Linked DNA regions of Homo sapiens: region 1 is linked to region 2. The links are contacts of gene promoters, found by promoter capture Hi-C in blood cells and fetal thymus (Javierre and others, 2016). All regions are on one chromosome and are shown on one strand. Each heading gives the region's core, a stretch centred on a gene start or on the middle of the fragment in contact. The rest is flanking DNA. Distances are from core to core; before and after follow the strand shown.

Evidence for each region. Contacts are between HindIII fragments. The CHiCAGO score rates a contact against its expected background, and 5 or more counts as called.
Region 1: a contact is called between a fragment that was not itself captured here and the fragment with the promoter of ATP10D in region 2, in 1 of 17 cell types (M2 macrophages). The highest score is 5.7, in M2 macrophages.

What each region holds. Positions count from the first base shown.
Region 1 is chr4:46,976,663-46,979,678 of GRCh38, forward strand. It overlaps GABRA4 (gamma-aminobutyric acid type A receptor subunit alpha4), which reads right to left. Exons shown (of 9, transcript NM_000809.4): 3 at 2,369-2,436; 4 at 748-968; 5 at 399-481. Among named protein-coding and RNA genes, the nearest start is that of GABRA4, 15 kb to the right of the region's middle. The HindIII fragment of the contact is 1,942 bases long and covers 790-2,731 here.
Region 2 is chr4:47,483,458-47,486,574 of GRCh38, forward strand. ATP10D (ATPase phospholipid transporting 10D (putative)) reads left to right here and starts at 1,818. Exons shown (of 23, transcript NM_020453.4): 1 at 1,818-2,062. RefSeq lists enhancers at 1,655-1,949, 1,921-1,990. The HindIII fragment of the contact is 11,274 bases long and covers 1-3,117 here.

The DNA of each region.
Region 1 (3,016 bases), core at 511-3,010, 510 kb before region 2:
ATATCTATCTATGTATCTATCTATCTATCTGAAGTGATATGTGTTATAATTATATCAATTATATATATATTTATCTATATAATTTGTACTTTCTGTGTAACACTACCAACATGTAGAGTTCAGAGGTCCCTAAATTTCACCACTGATCACCAGCCAATTGTGACTAAGACTACTTAGATTATCTGTATAAATAGGTTTTTGTTTGTTGTGGGGAAAGGAGGTTGTTTTTATTTCTTTATTATAAAATATTAGTTAATGAAATCTCCAGAAATAAAACCGGACAGTTTTTGTTATGGACCATGACTTAAATGTTGGATTATGAAAAATAAAATACATGTGTAAATATTAGCTTGCATGAGGTAATCATAAATTCTAGCAAAATTTTTATTATAACTTACAACTCCCGAATTTCAAAGGGCATGCATGACCATCCATGGGAAAATCCACCAATCTCATGGGACACTCCGCACTTATGGTGAGTCTATGATGAAAAATGCAATTAAATAAAATCAACCCTTTTAAAGAATAATTGTGACTTTAGATTCTAAAATAGGAAGGAAGGGAGGGAAGGAGGAAGGAAGAAGGGAGGGAAGAAAAGGAAGGAAGGAAGGGAAGGAGGAAGGGAGGGAGGAAGGGAGGGAGGAAGGGAGGGAGGAAGGGAGGGAGGAAGGAAGGAAGGAAGGAAGAAAGGAAAGGAAAGAAAGAAAAGAATAAAAAAGGAAGGGAAGAAGTAAAAAAAAATATTACCTCATTGTGTATAAAATAGTACCATTTCTCATAATTCTAAAAAGCTTATTTGGAGCTGTCATATTATGTGAGACAGATTTCTTTCCATTCCTGAAGAAAGTATCAGGGGTCCACACTTTCGTTACCATCATATTGTTCAATCTCAAAATTTCAATGGGGCCGTCATATTTTAATCTTTTGTCAATCCATGTCTGCCTGAAGAACACATCCATTGTGTATTCCTAGGACAATTATTTTGGAACATATTTAAGTTGCAAATGACTACACATAAGTATGTGAAAATAATGCATTAAATTCTGTCTTCCTTCATGCTCATAAAAAAATACCACTCCAAATAAAATTAATAGGAGCAGGAATGATCTTGAATCAATGGAGCAAAAAGATTCTCAGCAATTAGAATAACTTTTATCCATCTTGATACCTTCATCTTCTACATTCATAAGATAAATAAATTACCACACATACTAATAATTTAATAATAAATTTGCTATAATTTAAGAAAACTGCCAGTACCAGGTAGTTACAATTGTGTTTTACTTTAGACTAGATAGCAAAAATCAGTTAAAGTGTAAAAAATATCATGCACAATTAATCGTGTAATTGTAGGCATTTTAAAGACAAAATAATATGTGTAAGAGATATTTTATTTTCACAAAGTTTATTAAAATGAGTCAAATAACTCAAGGGTTTCAAATTACTAGGAGCTTTAAATCAATGAATAAACTAAAGTAAGTTTTTTGTCTTGCAAACTAAATATATTTAATATAAGAGAGCACAACTGTATGGATGAATTCTTCCTGACCAGTGCTTCGTATTCTAAGCTCTTAAACATGAGTGAGAAGGAGGCAGAAGGGCTGGGATGGGCAGCAAGCAATTAGATCAACATGAAATACTAAATATAATGAAAACTATAAAATAGTGTACACGACTAGTTCATACTGAAACTAATTATCACCTCTAATTTTCTCCTCCTCAATAGTTTCCTAAAGAAAAAACAGCCGGGCACGGTGGCTCATGCCTGTAATCCCAGCAATTTGGGAGACTAAGGTGAGAGGATCACCTGAGGTCAGGAGTTCGAGACCAGCCTGACCAACATGGAGACACCCTATCTCTACTAGAAACACAAAATTAGCCAGGCACGGTGGGGCATGCCTGCATTCCCAGCTACTTGGGAGGTTGAGGCAAGAGAATCACTTGAACCTGGGAGATGGAGGTTGCAGTGAGCAAAGATCCCGCCATTGTACTCCAGCCTGGGCAACAAGAGCAAAACTTCATCTCAAAAAAAAAAAAAAAAAAAAAAAAAAGAAAAAGAAAGAAAGAAAAGAAAAGTAAAAAGGAAAGCAAAAAAGCTGCACCCTAGGTTGTGCTATAGGAACCAGTAATAGGAAAGTTCTTCTCTTTGTTTAGAATGACCCTAAATCAACAAGTACTCAAATGTTACAACTGAAATGCAAATTGAATGAGATTCAATGTCTTACTCTTCATACATTCTTAAGTTTAATTAGGGATTCTTTAGGTTTCTGGCTTTGTGTGATTGACAACAAAATAAATATTAATTGCCCTCTTTTCTACATGTTTTCTTCAAGTCTCAAAAGGTACATTAAACTTCGAAAATACCTACCATTTCAACATCAGAAACAGGTCCAAAGCTGGTGACATATATGTCAGTTTTCACTTCTGTAACAGGACCTAACGGGTATGAAGTAAATAAGTGTGAAAAAATAATTACCAATTTTACAGGCTGGGAAGGTTAGATAATTACAGAGTAAATACAGATATGATATATCATGTTTTTACAAGCATCTTACATTTTCAGTGAGATAATGAATCTCTACAAAACAAATGTAGACCAAAGCGCAACAAGACCAGAAAGCAGTGTTTACTTACAGGCAAAAAGAAACCCCAATTACTTACCAGGAACCTTGTTTCTTCAAAGATACGTCACCCCTGGGTACTGTTACAACAGGCAATGCAGAGACACAAAAGCTTTTAACCTTTGCGATATTTTATAGTCCATCATCTGATTGGCCTCTAATAAAGAAGTGAGCTGTTAAAAAGGGGAAGTGTGGCCACAGCAACAAAGAAGAGAAAAACCATAACAGCTGTAAGGAATGTATCCTTGGAGAGCTGAGGATACTAGTAAATAATTTTAAAAATGATTCATGTCACCTTTATCAACAAGCACACCATCCACTGCTGATTGGGATCAAAGACAAACTTTCTTACAAGTGACAGATACTTACACTCTGCCACCTACTAGCTGTACAAT
Region 2 (3,117 bases), core at 568-3,067:
AGTGGTTATTCCAATGACCTTCATGGTATTTATGAGTATTGATTTTTAAAAATTTGATTAGAAATATTTAAATTATCAAAATGATACAAATTTCATTCAAATGACAGACACAAATAGAAAGCTAGTAATCTCCCCTCACTATCCTTCCCTGAGTAAACAATTTTGAGGTGTATCTTCACGTTTTTATATTTATATTAAAATAAACCAATATATAAAGAATATGTATAAGGCTAAGTTGTATTACATAATGTTTTCCATTATTCTACTACTATGCTCTTTAGACTTAAATATAATAGATTTTCTTCTAAGACAATAATTCAAATCTTAGTCAGTGATTCTCAACCCTTGTGCACATTAGAATTTCTAGAGGAGCTTGAAAAAAAGACATTGCCATAGCGCCACCCCCAGAGATTCTGGTTTAATTGGCCTGGGTGGGGCCTTGGCATCAAGCTCCCCGGTTCACTCTGATGTGTAGCTAGTTAGAACCACTGATTTAAGCAATCCAAACAGGCTACATGCCTGAATTGTCCTGGTATGTACGTTCCCAGGAAGGCCCTCTGCTGAGGTAACAACACCAGTGTTTGATTGGGAGAGCTCAGGGGGGCCCAGCTACAGTTTTAAGTCTCCTCTATAAGGTTGACTCTCAGATAGGAAATGTGTTTCATCTTAAAGGATGTTAGAGACAGTCATATGACTGCAAAAAGTGCTACTAGGGCCAGGAATTTCAGAGGCCATGTAAATGACAGTGTATTCTACTAGGCTGGGTTAATTCTGGGGATTAAGTTTGACTAAGTTCTAGAGATTTGTCCTTACCTGCAGATGGAGGCTTCCCTAATGGAGCATCATAGGAAGCCACACCCAGAACTTGTTTCTCCTCGTCTGGCAGAAGCACGTTCTCAGTGGGTGCAGAAACTTGTTTGGCTTCTCTTGGTCTGAGAGAATTTTCAAGCCGACCAACCAGCTCCCTGTGTCTGTACTGGTGAGCTCTTTACTAATAGTCAAACATTTGCATGCTCATTTAGTTTTCTTCACTCTTGTTGCACATCTGAGAAACACTTGAGAGAATGGAAGAGAGAGGCACAATATAGGAGAGCTGTGGAGAGTTTGGCCCCACTTTTTATATTTGTTTCAATGGGATAAAACAGGCAGCCAAGATTATTAGGTTTTGTTCTGAGTTATTGGTTCGGCCTTCACTAAATGGCTTTTCCTCTTTCCAAATTAGACATTTTGAGAAACCAGACAGGTTGTTGAAACTTATTTAGAAGTTTTAAAAAAAGTTGTGAATTTTAAGCAAACGGACCTTGGCAGGTGTATGGACAAAGCCACATTATCCTGAGTAAGGGAACGGAAGGGCAAGGTGTGAGGAAAACGACCAAATCAGAATTGTAATATTTTTCCTCATTTCTTTTCTAGTCATAAAAACAGTAACATTACATATTATTTATTTATTTTGTGGTAGGGTCTCACTCTGTCGCCCAGGCTGGAATGCAGTGGCGCGACATTTTTAGATTTGATCTCTTTTACCCTCCAAAAAATAATTGTCCAGTGTTCCACGTTTAGCTAAAACAGTGAATTGTTAGAATTGCAGCAAAACAATGAACCAAACCGTCAACCGCGAGCAACCTGTACTTGGGAGGTGAAAGTCAGAGGTGAGATTGTAAGGGCTCTGGGTCACTGGGGCATCTGCGCTGGGCAGAAGGGCAGCTCGGTCAAACAGCTGGAGCTGGGAGCCGGTCAGTTGCCAGGCCCTGCCGCTGCTACGTCACGGAGGGCGGGGCGGTGGGCGATTGGCGGTGCACTGCAGCTCGGGCTGCTCTGCAGCCTGGCGGAGACGGGAGGAGGAGCGGAGGGAGAAGTAGGTTGCGAGCTCAGCACAGGCTCCGGCGCTGGCTCCCGCAGCTGAGTTTGGGAGATGTCTAAGTGATTTTTTTTTTTTCCCGGAAGGCAAATGGCTGGCGTGGAAGCACAACCCGCTTTCACTCTTCGAATTTGTGCTTAGCTCTTTTCTTGTACCTTGCGACTCGTGACCAACATGCTGTGATGTGTGCCGAGGGAGGAATTGGTAAGAGTGAGACGGCGAATCCCTCTGACTGTCCCAGCCTTCTGCTTCACCGCCCACCCGCTTTTCCTTTCTGTTTCTCTCTCCTGTTTCTCCCCGCTCCACTTCCCTAGTCGTGTTTAGATTTGATGACATGGCTCAAAACTACAGTTCTGGGCTGTTACTGAACTAAAAAAAAAAAACAACAAAAGATAAAATGATTACACCATTTTCAATCATTTGTTAAAGGGGAATTTAAAAATCTATTTTAAATGCTGGATTTTGTAAAAAGGTAAACTGCACACGCGGGCGCACACGGGCACGTACATACACGCATTCTCACACACCTTTGTACACGCGGGCATACACGGGCACGCACACACACGCATTCACACACACACACACTCCTTTGTCATCCCGTTGTGAAATAAGCAGTTTAAAGAAATTTTGGTTATCTGCCTCAAAGGTGATGAAAAGGGAAGGTGTTGAAGATTTAGCCCAGCAGATTGATTCCTTAAGGTTGATTCCCTAAGGTTGATTCCTTAGGAAGAAAAAGGTGTTTGTATTGGAGCTTTCTCGGAAATAGTTTTCAAAGGAGTGCTACAAAGAAGCCCCCATGCTTCCCCCAAAACACTAACTTTAAAGAACCTAGTTGTTATTCGGGGCACCCTTTATTTTACGTTGTAAAACATGTAGTTTTAATTTACCACGTACAGCAGAGAGACATCAGTTGGTTAGGGAATGGATGGTTATTTTGGTGTCTGGGACCCTGTGCCTTTAGAAAGAATATGTTTTAACTGCTCTTATCATGCTAGCTCAGGTTTTTAAAATGTGATCTGAATAAGACCAAAGTTTCTTCTTGCGTTCTTTTCATGCTGGTTCTAAGCAGGGAGAAAAACAAGTCTGTATGGACAGAGCAAACCTCTAACTCAAAATCAACCTTGAGAGATGCATCAACAAGGACAGGGGCTCCTCATCCACCAATATTTACTTGTATCAGCCTTTAAATCATGTAGGTCACATTTCTGTGAAGAATAGCATCATCGAAAACCCTTGCTGACTTGTGAAGAGCAAAAATC